Regions from separate parts of the Homo sapiens genome. Here all the other regions are linked to region 3. Evidence: promoter capture Hi-C in 16 types of primary human blood cells and fetal thymus (Javierre and others, 2016). All regions are on one chromosome and are shown on one strand. The core of a region is centred on a gene start or on the middle of the fragment in contact, and the rest is flanking DNA. Distances in the headings are between cores, read along the strand shown.

The links. Contacts are between HindIII fragments. The CHiCAGO score rates a contact against its expected background, and 5 or more counts as called.
Region 1: a contact is called between the fragment with the promoter of ZNF426 here and the fragment with the promoter of OR7G3 in region 3, in 4 of 17 cell types (non-activated CD4 T cells, total CD4 T cells, total B cells and 1 more). The highest score is 7.6, in non-activated CD4 T cells.
Region 2: a contact is called between a fragment that was not itself captured here and the fragment with the promoter of OR7G3 in region 3, in 2 of 17 cell types (total CD8 T cells and naive B cells). The highest score is 5.2, in total CD8 T cells.

Annotation. Positions count from the first base shown.
Region 1 is chr19:9,537,207-9,541,496 of GRCh38, forward strand. ZNF426 (zinc finger protein 426) reads right to left here and starts at 1,439. Exons shown (of 8, transcript NM_024106.3): 1 at 1,369-1,439; 2 at 1,053-1,139. It overlaps ZNF426-DT (ZNF426 divergent transcript), which reads left to right and starts at 1,460. Exons shown (of 2, transcript NR_134921.1): 1 at 1,460-1,792; 2 at 2,200-2,524. RefSeq lists enhancers at 745-1,480, 1,487-1,536, 1,737-1,806, 2,461-3,660. The HindIII fragment of the contact is 12,585 bases long and covers 1-3,803 here.
Region 2 is chr19:9,567,732-9,571,577 of GRCh38, forward strand. It overlaps ZNF121 (zinc finger protein 121), which reads right to left. Exons shown (of 4, transcript NM_001008727.5): 2 at 1,271-1,351; 3 at 364-444. The coding sequence starts at 366. Among named protein-coding and RNA genes, the nearest start is that of ZNF121, 15 kb to the right of the region's middle. The HindIII fragment of the contact is 7,355 bases long and covers 1-3,846 here.
Region 3 is chr19:9,124,766-9,129,172 of GRCh38, forward strand. It overlaps OR7G3 (olfactory receptor family 7 subfamily G member 3), which reads right to left and starts at 2,185. Exons shown (of 1, transcript NM_001001958.1): 1 at 1,247-2,185. The coding sequence starts at 2,185. The coding sequence ends at 1,247. The HindIII fragment of the contact is 3,002 bases long and covers 1,475-4,407 here.

The DNA.
Region 1 (4,290 bases), core at 189-2,688, 410 kb after region 3:
AGAATGGGAGTCAAATGATGATAAACAGTGAAAGTTCCGCAGTTCATTATCCATGAACCAAATTCACAAAAACTCTATAGGCCTCCTTCTACCAATAAGACTAAAACCCTAAAGTCACAAAAACCACAGTTCTGGACTCCTGGTATAGATCACACCTACTCCCAGGGGTCTCAAACTAGGGGTCCTAGGGCTGACTAGGCCCACAAATATTCAGTTTGGTGGCATCTGTATAGAATATTTAACTCTTTTTTTTTTTTTTTTTTTGGAGAGATGGAGTCTTGCTATGTTGCCCAGGCTGGTCTTAAACTCCTGGGCTCAAGAGATCTTCCTGCCTCAGCCTCTCAAAGTGCTGGGATCACAGGTGTGAGCCACTGTACCCAGCCAGCTTTTTTTTTTTTTCATTGATATACAATCAATGTAGCTTAAAATGCACACATCCTTCGTTTCTCTTTTTTTTCTTTTGAGACGGAGGCTCACTCTGTCTCCCAGGCTGGAGTGCAGTGGCACGATCTCAGCTCACTGCAACGTCCGCCTCCTGGGTTCAAGTGATTCTCCTGCCTTAGTCTCCCAAATAGCTGAGATTCCAAGACCCCACCACCACGCTCGGCTAATTTTTTTTCTATTTTTAGTAGAGACGGGGTTTCACCATCTTAGCCAGGCTGGTTTCAAACTCCTTAATCCAACCATCCTGTTCATTGTAAATTTGATTATTGTGATACTAGAATAATAAAGCCTTCATCCTTTCCCTCTGGAGGTCTGATTAAGAAGCTCTCTTGGGATGTACAGGCCTAGGAACTCCATTCGAAGATAATGAATTATTATTCTTAGTATTCTTTAGCAGAAAGACTTGCGGTCTACAAACGTTTATATTCACATACACAAATACGCACACCCTATAAACCTAAAAAGCATCTTTATCTTTCGCCATGAAAGTAATGGTCAAAAATAAAACACAACACAATAAGACGAAACCAAACTTACAGATGAAACATTCGTTTGCATAAGAGAAGACAGAAAAGGCCCCCTAGAACCAACTTTCACCCAGTGCTCACCGGAACACTCAGAAATCGCCAGGTCCCTGAACCGGGAAGATCCTGGGGACGGAGCCAACGCGGATGCAAAAGGCAGCAATTATTTTCCTGCCGGAAAAAAATTCACAAACGCTGCTTTGGAGGCCTTTGGAGAGGGGCGCACAGATGAAAACACCCTGCGGACACCGTAACTATAAACCCGACTCCTCCCGAGGAGCGACGGTCCGAGCGGACGCTAGCGGGCCCAGCAGACACGAGCAGAGCGGGCCAGGCCTCTCTAACGTCCGGGCCAAACCCGTCCTTCACCCCAAAACCAGTTCATCTCCTCGGAACTCACCCAGGCCAGTGAGGCCTTAACTCTGAAAGGCAAAAAGACTCTCAGGCGCTCACAGCCGGCGTCACAAAAGGAACGGCGCACCGCTGACGTCATTTACGCTCTCCGCCTCGGGCCAGGCGGGGTTTCGGGACTAGGGTTTCTGCCGTGTAATACCTCCTCGAGGCAGAAAAATTCTACTTTCCATCTGCTTGGCTGCGGAGGACCTTGGGGTGGGCTCAGCGTGGGGGCTGCAGGCAGAAATGGGTCCAGAAGGCAAGGTCGAGGTTAGAGCCAAGCCTGTGGGCAGGGCTACGGGCAGGGGGCGGGGAGGAATGTGGGTCCAGGCCCAGAGGAAAAGGTTGAAGTTATAGCCAGGCCTGTGGGCGAGGCCGCAGCAGGGCGGCCATAGGGGAAGGAGCCAATGTGTTATGCATGTAGAAAATAGGTAACTACGTCTTTTGCTCTGTTACTATTTCAACATTTGATGTAAAAAACATTTTCTATGCAGCTAAAAGAATTGTTTTTAAAAATAATTTCTAGGTTTTCTGCCTTGCTTTAAAACATCTTTTCTTTTTTTTTGAGACAAAATCTCACTCTGTCACCAAGGCTGGAGTTCAGTGGAGCCATCTCAGCTCACTGCAACCTCCACCTCCCAGGTTCAAGCGATTCTCCTGCCTCATCCTCCCAAGTAGCTGGAATTACAGGTGCATGCTGCCACACCCTGCTAATTTTTGTATTTTTAGTAGAGGCAGGGTTTTGCCATGCTGGCCAGGCTGGTCTTGAACTACTTGTCAGGCCTCTGAGCCCAAGTTAAATCATCATAAACCCTGTCACCTGCACGTATACATCCAGATGGCCTGGAGCAACTGAAGAACCACAAAAGAAGTGAAACAGCCAGTTCCTGCCTTAACTGATGACGTTCCACCATTGTGATTTGTTGCTGCCCCACCCCAACTGATCTCTTGACCTTGTGACATTCTTCTTCTGGACGAGTCTCAGGAGTTCCCCACCGAGCACCTTGTGACCCCCGGCCCTGCCAGCAAAAGATAACCACCTTTAACTTTCCACTACCTACCCAAATCCTATAAAACTGCCCCACCCCTATCTCCCTTTGCTGACCCCTTTCTCGGACTCAGCCCACTTGCACCCAAGTGAATAAACAGCCTTGTTGCTAACACAAAGCCTATTGGTGGTCTCTTCACATGGATGTGTGTAACATTTGGTTCCGAAACCTGGGACAGGGGGACTCCCTTGGGAGACTGGCCCCGTCCTCACCCTCACTCCGTGAGGAGCTCCACCTACTACCTCGGGTCCTCAGACTAGCCCAAGGAACATCTCACCAATTTCAAATTGGGTAAGCAGTCTCTTCACTCTCTTCTCCAGCCTCTCTCACTACCCTTCCATCTCTCTGTCCTTCCAATTCCAGTTCTTTTTCCTCTCCAGTAGAGACAAAGGAGACACATTTTATCTGTGGACCCAAAACTCCAGCTCCAGTCACGGACTCAGGAAGACAGTCTTTCCTTGGTGGCTAATCACTGTAGGGATACCTGCCTGATTATTCACCTACATTCCATTGGTGTCTGATCACTGTGGGGATGCCTGCCTTGATCATTCACCCACATTCCCTTGGTGGCAAGTCAATTGCAGGGCTGCCTGCTTTGGCTGCTTACCCACATTACAGCCCAGGGCTGCTCACCCCCACCCCACTCCACTGCCTTCTCCATGTCTCTACCTTTCTCTTTAAACTTACCTCCTTCACTATGGGCAATCTTCTGCCCTCCATTCCCTGTTCTTCTCCCTTAGCCTGTGTTCTCAAGAACTTAAAACCTATTCAACTCACACCTGACCTAAAACCTAAATACCTTATTTTCTTCTGCAACACCACTTGGCCCCAGTACAAACTTGACAATGGTTCTAAATGGCCAGAAAATGGCACTTTTGATTTCTCCATCCTACAAGATCTAGATAATTTTTGTCATAAAATGGGCAAATGGTCTGAGATGCCTGACATCCAGGCATTCTTTACACATTGGTCCGTCCCTAGTCTTTGCTCCCAATGTGACTCATCCCAAATCTTTCTTGTTTCTTTCTTGTCCTTTGAATCCTCCTTTTCTATGGACCCATCTGACCTCTCCCCTCCCCCTCAGGCTGCTCCTCGCCAAGCTGAGCCAGGTCCTAACGTATCCAGAATTGGTGGGTTCTTGGTCTCACTGACTTCAAGAATGAAGCCGTGGACCCTCGCGGTGAGTGTTACAGTTCTTAAAGGCGGCGTGTCTGGAGTTTGTTCCTTCTGATGTTCGGATGTGTTCAGAGTTTCTTCCTTCTGGTGGGTTTGTGGTCTCGCTGGCTCAGGAGTGAAGCTACAGACCTTTGCGGTGAGTGTTACAGCTCTTAAAGGCAGCATGGACCCAAAGAGTAAGCAGTAGCAAGATTTATTGCAAAGAGCAAAAGAACAAAGCTTCCACAGCGTGGAAGGGGACCCAAGGGGGTTGCCACTGCTGGCTCAGTAGCCTGCTTTTATTCTCTTATCTGGCCCTACCCACATCCTGCTGATTGGTAGAGCCGAGTGGTCTGTTTTGACAGGGTGCTGATTGGTGTGTTTACAAACCTTGAGCTAGATACAGAGTGCCAATTGGTGTTTCCACAATCCCTGAGCTAGACATAAAGGTTCTCCACATCCCCACCAGACTCAGGAGCCCAGCTGGCTTCACCCAGTGGATCCCGCACTGGGGCTGCAGGTGGAGCTGCCTGCCAGTCCCGCGCCATGTGCCCGCACTCCTCAGCCCTTGGGTGGTTGATGGGACTGGGCACCATGGAGCAGGGGGGAGCTCTCATCAGGGAGGCTCGAGCTGCACAGGAGCCCATGGAGGGGGTGGGAGGCTCAGGCATGGCGGGCTGCCAGTCTTGAGCCCTGCCCTGTGGGAAGGCAGCTAAGGCCTGGCG
Region 2 (3,846 bases), core at 914-3,413, 440 kb after region 3:
CATCAGTCTCATAAGGAGCACACAATCTAGAACCCTCGCATGGGTGGTTCACAGTAAGGTTTGTGCTTCTATGACAATCGAATGCTGCTACTGACAGGTGGAGTATATGACAGGCAGTAATACAAGCGATGGGGAATGGCTATACACACAGATGAAGTTTCGTTCATCTGCCACTTACCTCCTGCTGTGCAGCCCAGTTCCTAACACTAACAGAAACAGTACCAGTGGGGACCCTTGCTCTAGAGACATTCCTCCTGCTTGAGTAAATGTTACCTCTCTCAAATATCTCTCATTTTTGCTGATTTTTTATAATTGAATCCCAATCTTTTTTTGAGTGTGGTAAATAAGAAATCTTAATCTTACCATTTGTATGCCGTTTGATGTTTTGTTAAGCCAAAAAAAAATGTTGTTGAGGTGCTGACACTTTGGTTTTAACTTGCCATTCTGAAGTAAAACAGAAAAAAAGAAAAAAAAATAGGGTCTGAGAACAAAACAGTAGGTTAAATAAGTCAGAATTATAAAGCTCATTTTTATTTGTCATATTCAGCACACTCAAAAAAATTAAACAGACATAGATTTGAACAGTTTATCCATGACGAACATTTGGCAATCGTAAGGACTTGGGGTCTAAACTTAGTAATTTTTTTTTTTTTTGAGACAGAGTCTCGCTCTGTCACCCAGACTGGAGTGCTGGAGTGCAGTGGCATGATCTCGGCTCACTGCAACCTCCACCTCCTGGGTTCAAGCGATTCTCCTGCCTCAGCCTCCGAGTAGCTTGGATTACAGGTGCCCACCACCAGGCCCGGCTAATTTTTGTATTTTTAGTAGAGACGGGGTTTCTCCATGTTGGCCAGGCTGGTCTCAACTCCTGACCTCAAAAGATCCACCCGCCTCAGCCTCCCAAAGTGCTGGGATTACAGGCATAAGCCACCATGCCCAGCAATTTAGTAATTTTTTAAACAATTTATTCTATAGAAATTAAATGAGATAATGAACAGAAATAGTATTAGGGAAGGAAAATAGAAATGATCTGGATAAAGAGCACACATTAAAGTCATAAACAAAAAGATAAAAGAGCACTCATTTGCAAAATCACATGAAAGTCTGGGTTAGATGAAAAAGAGAGGAATATGGAAAGTTGAAGATACCCTAAAACTTCCAAGTCCAATGGCCCCATGTTCTGTGACAAAGTACATCTTTTAAATATATCTTCATTATGCTTCCAAACATACTGAACTTCTCATTGACCAGGAGTGTTCTTCATACTCACCTTGGGGAACTCCGGTTGGCAATGTGCTCAACTTTTCCTTCTCCTCCTCCAGTCAAGAGACAGACTGAGTTTGAATAGGTCCTGTACAGAGGGAAAGATACATCAATGGAAGAGGCTTATGAAGGAAATGACAAACGTAACCAAGAAAAAAACAACTATATTCCTAAAGAGAGTAGTGAAACTATTTTAAAAGAGCTCAAATTTCATATATCTCATCCTTTTGTGCCCTGAGGAGTTGGTTATCTCTGACCAAATACCCACTATTCAGACTTAAATACACATTTAAAAACCATTAAAGACTGGGCGCAGTGGCTCATGCCTGTAATCCCAGAACTTTGGGAGGCTGAGGTGGGAGAATCACCTGAGCCTGGGGAGGTTGAGGCTGCAGTGAGTCATGATTGCACCACTGTACTCCAACCTAGGTGACAAAGTGAGACCCTGTCTTAAAAAAAATAAAATAAAAACCATTAAAACGTGTATTCAAATAGGAAATAATCCAAGTGCAAAGAGAGATCATTATTTTGTTTTCTGGTTTTGTTTTTTTTTTTGAGACAGAGTCTCACTCTGTCACCCAGGCTGGAGTGCAATGGCACTGTCTCAACTCACTGCAACCTCCACCTCCCAGGTTCAAGTGATTCTCCTGCCTCAGCCTCGTGAGCAGCTGGGGTTACAGGCACCCACCATCAGGTCTGGCTAATTTTTTTGTATTTTTATAGAGACAGGGTTTCACCACATTGGCCAGGCTTGTCTTGAACTCCCGACCTCAGGTGATCCGCCCACCTCAGCCTCCCAAAGTGCTGGGATTGCAGGTGTGAGCCACCACGCCTGGCCGAGATCTTTTTTTTTTTTTTTTTTTTTACGATATCGTCAAAAGCTCGAATATTGTGTCTTTTGTAGCTTTTCTTATATCATGGGTAGTATTACATCTCTCTCTCTCTCTCTTTTTTTTCTTTTTGAGAGATTTTTGCTCTGTCCCCCAGGCTGGAGTGTAGTGGCACAATCTTCGCTCACTACAACCTCTGCCGCCGCCCACCCTAGTTCAAGCAATACAAAAATTAGCAGGGCGTGGTGGCACGTGCCTGTAGTCCCAACCACTCAGGAGGCTGAGGCAGGAGAATCGCTTTTACTCAGGAAGCAGAGGCTGCAGTGAGCCGAGATCATGCCACTGCACTCCAGGCTGGGCAACAGAGCAAGATTCCATCCAAAAACAAAAGAATCAGAGAGCTTCTTTAGGACACCCCTGAAATAAAGTTATTTCTTATGTTCTCAGGGCTGAAATTGTTATAATTAATGAGGCTCATATGCCAGAGCTTCCCTGGCATAATGTGAAGGAGGGAATCCTAGAGAGACAGGAGTGTTGCACTGGATTTACTATGTGTCATCTGTATAGCCCACTCCCCCGCCCTTTGTTGACAGAGCAGAAGACACTCTCTTCACAAAGGTTATTAAGAGAGTAGTGGCGGGAGTGTCGTAATCCTTGAAAAGCTCTGTTGGTATTCTCCTTCATAGGACAGGTATGACTGCAAAGAATACCATCACTGAGATGAGTTCCCTGGGTTTTTTTGTTTGTTTGTTTGTTTTTGAGACGGAGTTTTGCTCTTGTTGCCCAGGATGGAGTGCAATGACGCAGTCTAGGCTCACTGCAACCTCCGCCTCCTGGGTTAAAGCGATTCTCCTGCCTGAGCCTCCCAAGTAGCTGGGATTACAGGCACCTGCCACCACACTTGGCTAATTTTTTGCGAGGGGGGGGGGTATTTTTAGTACAGACGGGGTTTAACCATATTGGCCAGGATGGTCTAGAACTCCTGGCCTCAGGTGATCTGCCCGCCTCAGCCTCCCAAAGTGCTGGGATTACAGGCGTGAGCCACCGCACCCAGCCGAGTTCCCTGCTTTCAATCGAGATGAAGGGGACCCAGAATAGCAGAAATCAAGAAGGTAGTATTTAATCACCAAACACAAGGTGAGAAAATCAACTATCAAGGACAGTGGAAATGTACCAGTAATCAGAATGCCCTGACCTACAGAGATCTGTGGTGGTGGCTAACTGATCGTGCTGTCCCTAGAAATGAAATAGATAAGCAGTTAACAAAGCCTACTCTAAAGAGCCACAAAATATATGTTAGGCATTATGGGCCACATGGTCTCTGTTGCAGCTACTCAACTCTGCTGTTGTAGCATGGAAAATACCATAGAAAATGTAAACAAATGAACACGGTTGTGTTCTGATTAAACTTTATATACAAAAAACACATGGAGAGACAGATATGGCCCATGGGCCATAGTGTACCAATCTCTGTACTTGAATACTGCTCCATCTATGTAAAAAGTCTAAACTATAGTAGCCAAAAACTGGATTTATCCCAGTGGAGAATCATAACCTGTCACTCAATTACCACACTGAAATCATTCATAAATCATGAACTTAGGTGATCACTCCAATTACCGCCATTTTTCAAAATGTAATGCCTTTACTAGATAAATCAACATAATTTCTGTCACTTGGTATGCAGGCATTGACATAGCTAATGTCTTTTCTCCATACCAATTTGAAAAAAACAAGACTTGGTTACCTTTCA
Region 3 (4,407 bases), core at 935-3,434:
TAATCCCAGCACTTTGGGAGGCTGAGGCGGGCAGATTACCTGAGGTCAGGAGTTCAAGGCCCGCCTGGCCAACATGGTGAAACTCTGTCTCTACTAAAAATACAAAAATGAGCCAGGCACAGTAGCAGGCGCCTGTAATCCCAGCTATTCAGGAGGCTGAGGCAGGAGAATCGCTTGAGCCCCAGAGGTGGAGGTTGCAGTAAGCCGAAATTGAGCCACTGCACTCTAGACTGGGCGACAGAGCAAGACTCTGTCTCAATAAATAAATAAATAAATAAATAAATAAATAAGTTTTTAAATTTTTAATTAAATTTAATTTTTTTTAAAAAAAGACTTAGTATTGGATAGACCAGTAGGGTGACTATAGTTCAAAATAATCCATTGTATATTTCAAAATACCTAGAAGAGAACAATTGGAATGGTTGGAGCATAAAGATAAGACAAATATTTAAGGTGATGGATATCTAAAGTAACAAATCCTTGCAGATTATACAAATGTATTACACTATCACATGCATCCTGAAACAATGTACATCTCTTATGCATTGATACAAAAATTTAAAAAAAGCCAGGTGTGGTGGCATGCACCTGCAGTCTCAGCTACTCGTCAGGCTGAGTCCAGAGGATCGCTTTAGCCCAGGAATTCGAGGCAGCAGTGAGCTGTGATCACACCACTGCACTCCAGCCTGGGCAACAAAGTGAGAGACTGTCTCAAAAATCAATTAGTCAGTCAATCAATCCAAAAAGAACTCAAGTCCACGTGGTCCGATTCCAAAACTATCACCCTGAACCATCTGATCTCTGGTCTCATGTATTCAAAGACATTGGTCAGGTGGGGCACAGTGGCTCATGCCTGTAATCCCAGCACTTTGGGAGGCTGAGACGGGCAGATCACCTGAGGTCAGGAGTTCGAGACCATCCTGGCCAATGTGGTGAAACCCCGTCTCTATTAAAAATAGAAAAATTAGCTGGGCTTGGTGGCACGTGCCTGTAATCCCAGCTACTCCGGAGGCTGAAGCAGGAGAATCGCTTGAACCCAGGAGGCGGAGGTTGCAGTGAGCCAAGATTGCGTCACTACACTCCAGTCTGGTCAACAGAGCGAGACTCCATCTCAAAAAACAAACAAACAAACAAAAACAAAAACAAAAACAGAAAACCCCAAAGACATTAGTCAGGCTTTCAAGACTTCTCATTACTTCTTTCTCCCTGACATATCCCAGCAGTGTAAGCCCAAGAAGCTGAGACATCAATGGAAAGATGGTATCCTAGATATTAGTTTCCTCAAAGCCTTCAACATGTCCTTGTTTCTCAGGCTGTAAATGAGTGGGTTCAGCATGGGGGTGACCACGGTATACATCACTGATGCTATTGCACCCTTCCTGGAGGAGTGGGTAGCCCCAGAACTAAGGTACACCCCAAACCCTGTTCCATAAAACAAGGAAACAACGATTAAATGTGACCCGCAGATGGAAAAAGCTTTATACTTTCCACCAGCTGATGGAATTTTCATGACAGAGGAGACAATTCGTGTGTAAGAGAAAATGATCCCAGAGAGAGGAACAACACCTAACAGGCTGGTCACCAAATACACCAGGATGTTATTGATGAGGACATCAGAACAGGCGAGCTTGAGAATATGAGCTAGTTCACAGAAAAAGTGGGGAATTTCCAGGTCTATGCAGAAGGTCAGCTGTAGCACCATCAACGTGTGCAGCAGAGCATCCAGGACACTAACGATGAAGGACAGCAGAAGCAGCAGCCCACAGAGTTTGGGGTTCATGATGACATTGTACCTCAGTGGGTGACAGATGGCCACAAATCGATCATAGGCCATCATGACCAGAATTCCATTTTCCAATCCAACAAAAACCAGGACAAAGCAGATTTGGGTGAGGCAGCCTGTGTAATTGATGGATTGAGCCTGTGCCTGGATGTTCACCAGCATCTTGGGCATCGTGGTGGAGGTGAAACAGATGTCGACCAAGGACAGGATAGAGAGGAGGAAGTACATGGGGGTGTGGAGGTGGGAGTCAGAGTTGACGGCCAGGATGATGAGCAGGTTCCCCAGCATTGTGGCCAGGTACATGGACAGGAACAGCATGAAGAGGATGGGCTGCAGCTCCGGATCCCCTGACAATCCCAAGAGAAAGAATTCTGGAGTGTCTGAGAAGTTTCCTGCTTTCATGTTGTTGATGAGTCTTGATCTTGTCAATATTATCAAAACCAAACCAGTTATAAGTTATAGACCTTTTTTCCTTCCTTCCTTCCTTCTTTCTTTCTTTCTTCCTTCCTTCCTTCCTTTCTTTTTCTTTCTTTCTTTCTTTCTTTCTTTCTCTCTCTCCCTCTCTCTCTTTCTCTTTCTCTCTCTTTCTTTCTTTCTCTCTCTCCCTCCGTCTTTCTTTCTTTCTCTTTCTTTCTTTCTTCTTACTTTCTTTTTCTTTCCCTCCCTCCCTCTCTCCCTCCTCTTTCTTTTTCTCTTTCTCTTTCTTTCTTTTCTCTTTCCTTCTTTCTTTCTTTCTCCTTTTTCTTTCTTTCTTCCTTTCCTTTCTTTCTCTTTCTTTCTCTCTCTCCCTCCCTCCTTCCCTCCCTCTCTCCCTCCTCTTTTTCTCCTTCCTTCCTTCCCTCCTTCCCCCCTCTCTTTCTTTCTCTCTCTTTTCCTTCCTTCCTTCCTTTCTCTCTCTCTCTCTCTTTCTTTCCTTCCTTCCTTCCTTCCTCCCTTCCTTCCCTCCTTCTTTCTTTCCTTCTTTCTTCTTTGCAGGGTCTCTCTCTCTCTGTCATCCATGCTGGAGTGCAGTGGCATGATCATAGCTCACTGTAGCCTCATCCCCCTGGGCTCAAGCAATCCTCCTCTCTCAGCCTCCCAAATAGCTGGGATGACAGGCATGAACCCCCATGCCCAGCCTGTTCTTTACTTCCTTCCTAGGTACCCTATCAGTGTCTTTCTCACCCACCAATTTCCCTTTCTCATTACAGTTTGTGAAAATAAAAATTAAGCCCTCTTTATCTAGCAGCATAAGCCCCTCCCACTATTTTTATTTGCCTTCATCTGTCTTTCATTTGTATCACAGATAATGTTAATAAAGAAAATTTTAACAGTAAGCCATGCATCAGACCCTCTTTCCATTATTTTTTTCTTTTCTTTTTTTTTTTGAGATGGAGTCTCGCTCTGCTACCCAGGCTGGAGTGCAGTGGTGGGATCTCAGCTCACTGCAACCTCTTCCTCCAGGGTTTGAGTGATCCTCCTGCCTCAGCCTCCCAAGTAGCTGGAACTACAGGTGTGTGCCAACACACCTGGCTGATTTTTATACTTTTAACAGAGATAGGGTTTCACCATGTTGGCCAGGCTGGTCTTGAACTCCTGACTTGAAGTGATCCACCCGCCTCAGCCTCCTAAAGTGCTGGGATTACAGGCTTGAGCCACTGCACCCACTCTTCCTATTATTACTGGTGCAGCCCCTGGTTCAGGCAACCCCTGAGCCTTGGCACTGATTCCTGGAGGAGTCCTGTGTGAGTCAGCGCCAAACCTTTCCTGTTCCTTCTGGCTTATCCAGATTCTTGAGAAATTGATTCTGGGGCCCCCAAAGCAGGAAGTAAAGAATTGATGTATGCCGGCAATGTCAAAACATCAGCCTGCTGTTCTCATAAACCCATAAGTTAAGGAAATTCTGTAATGATGACTCAGGAGTTGGGGCAAACATATTATAGAATCACAGCATGTGAACAGTTGAATGGTGCAGTGAGCCCATCTCAGCCCTTTGCTTCACAAATTGAGTTCCTGGCCAGACACAGCGGCTCACACCTATAATCCCAGCACTTTGGGAGGCTGAGGCAGAAGGGTCGCTTGAGGCCAGGAGTTTGAGACCAGCCTGAACAAAGTAGCAAGACCCATCTATAGTAAACATTTTTTAAAAATTAAATTAAATTAAAAATTAGCCAGGCACGGTGGTACGTGTCTGTAGTCCCAGCAACTTGGGAGGCTGAGTTGGGAGGATCACTTGAACCCAGGAGTTGGAAGCTGCAGTGAGCTTTCATAGGGTCACTGCATGCCAGCCTGGGCAACAGAGCAAGACTCTGCCTCTTAAAACAAATACACAAACAAGCTGGGCGCGGCGGCTCAAGCCTGTAATCCCAGAACTTTGGAAGGCTGAGGCAGGCGGTTCACGAGGTCAGGAGATCAAAACCATCCTGGCTAACATGGTGAAACCCCGTCTCTACTAAAAATACAAAAAATTAGCCGGACGTGGTGGTGGGTGCCTGTAGCCCCAGCTACTCAGGAGGCTGAGGCAGGAGAATGGCGTGAACCCGGGAGGTGGAGCTTGCAGTGATCCGAGATCCTGCCACTGCACTCCAGCCTGGGCGACAGAGCGAAACTCTGTCTCAAACAAACAAACAAAAAACCAAATACAC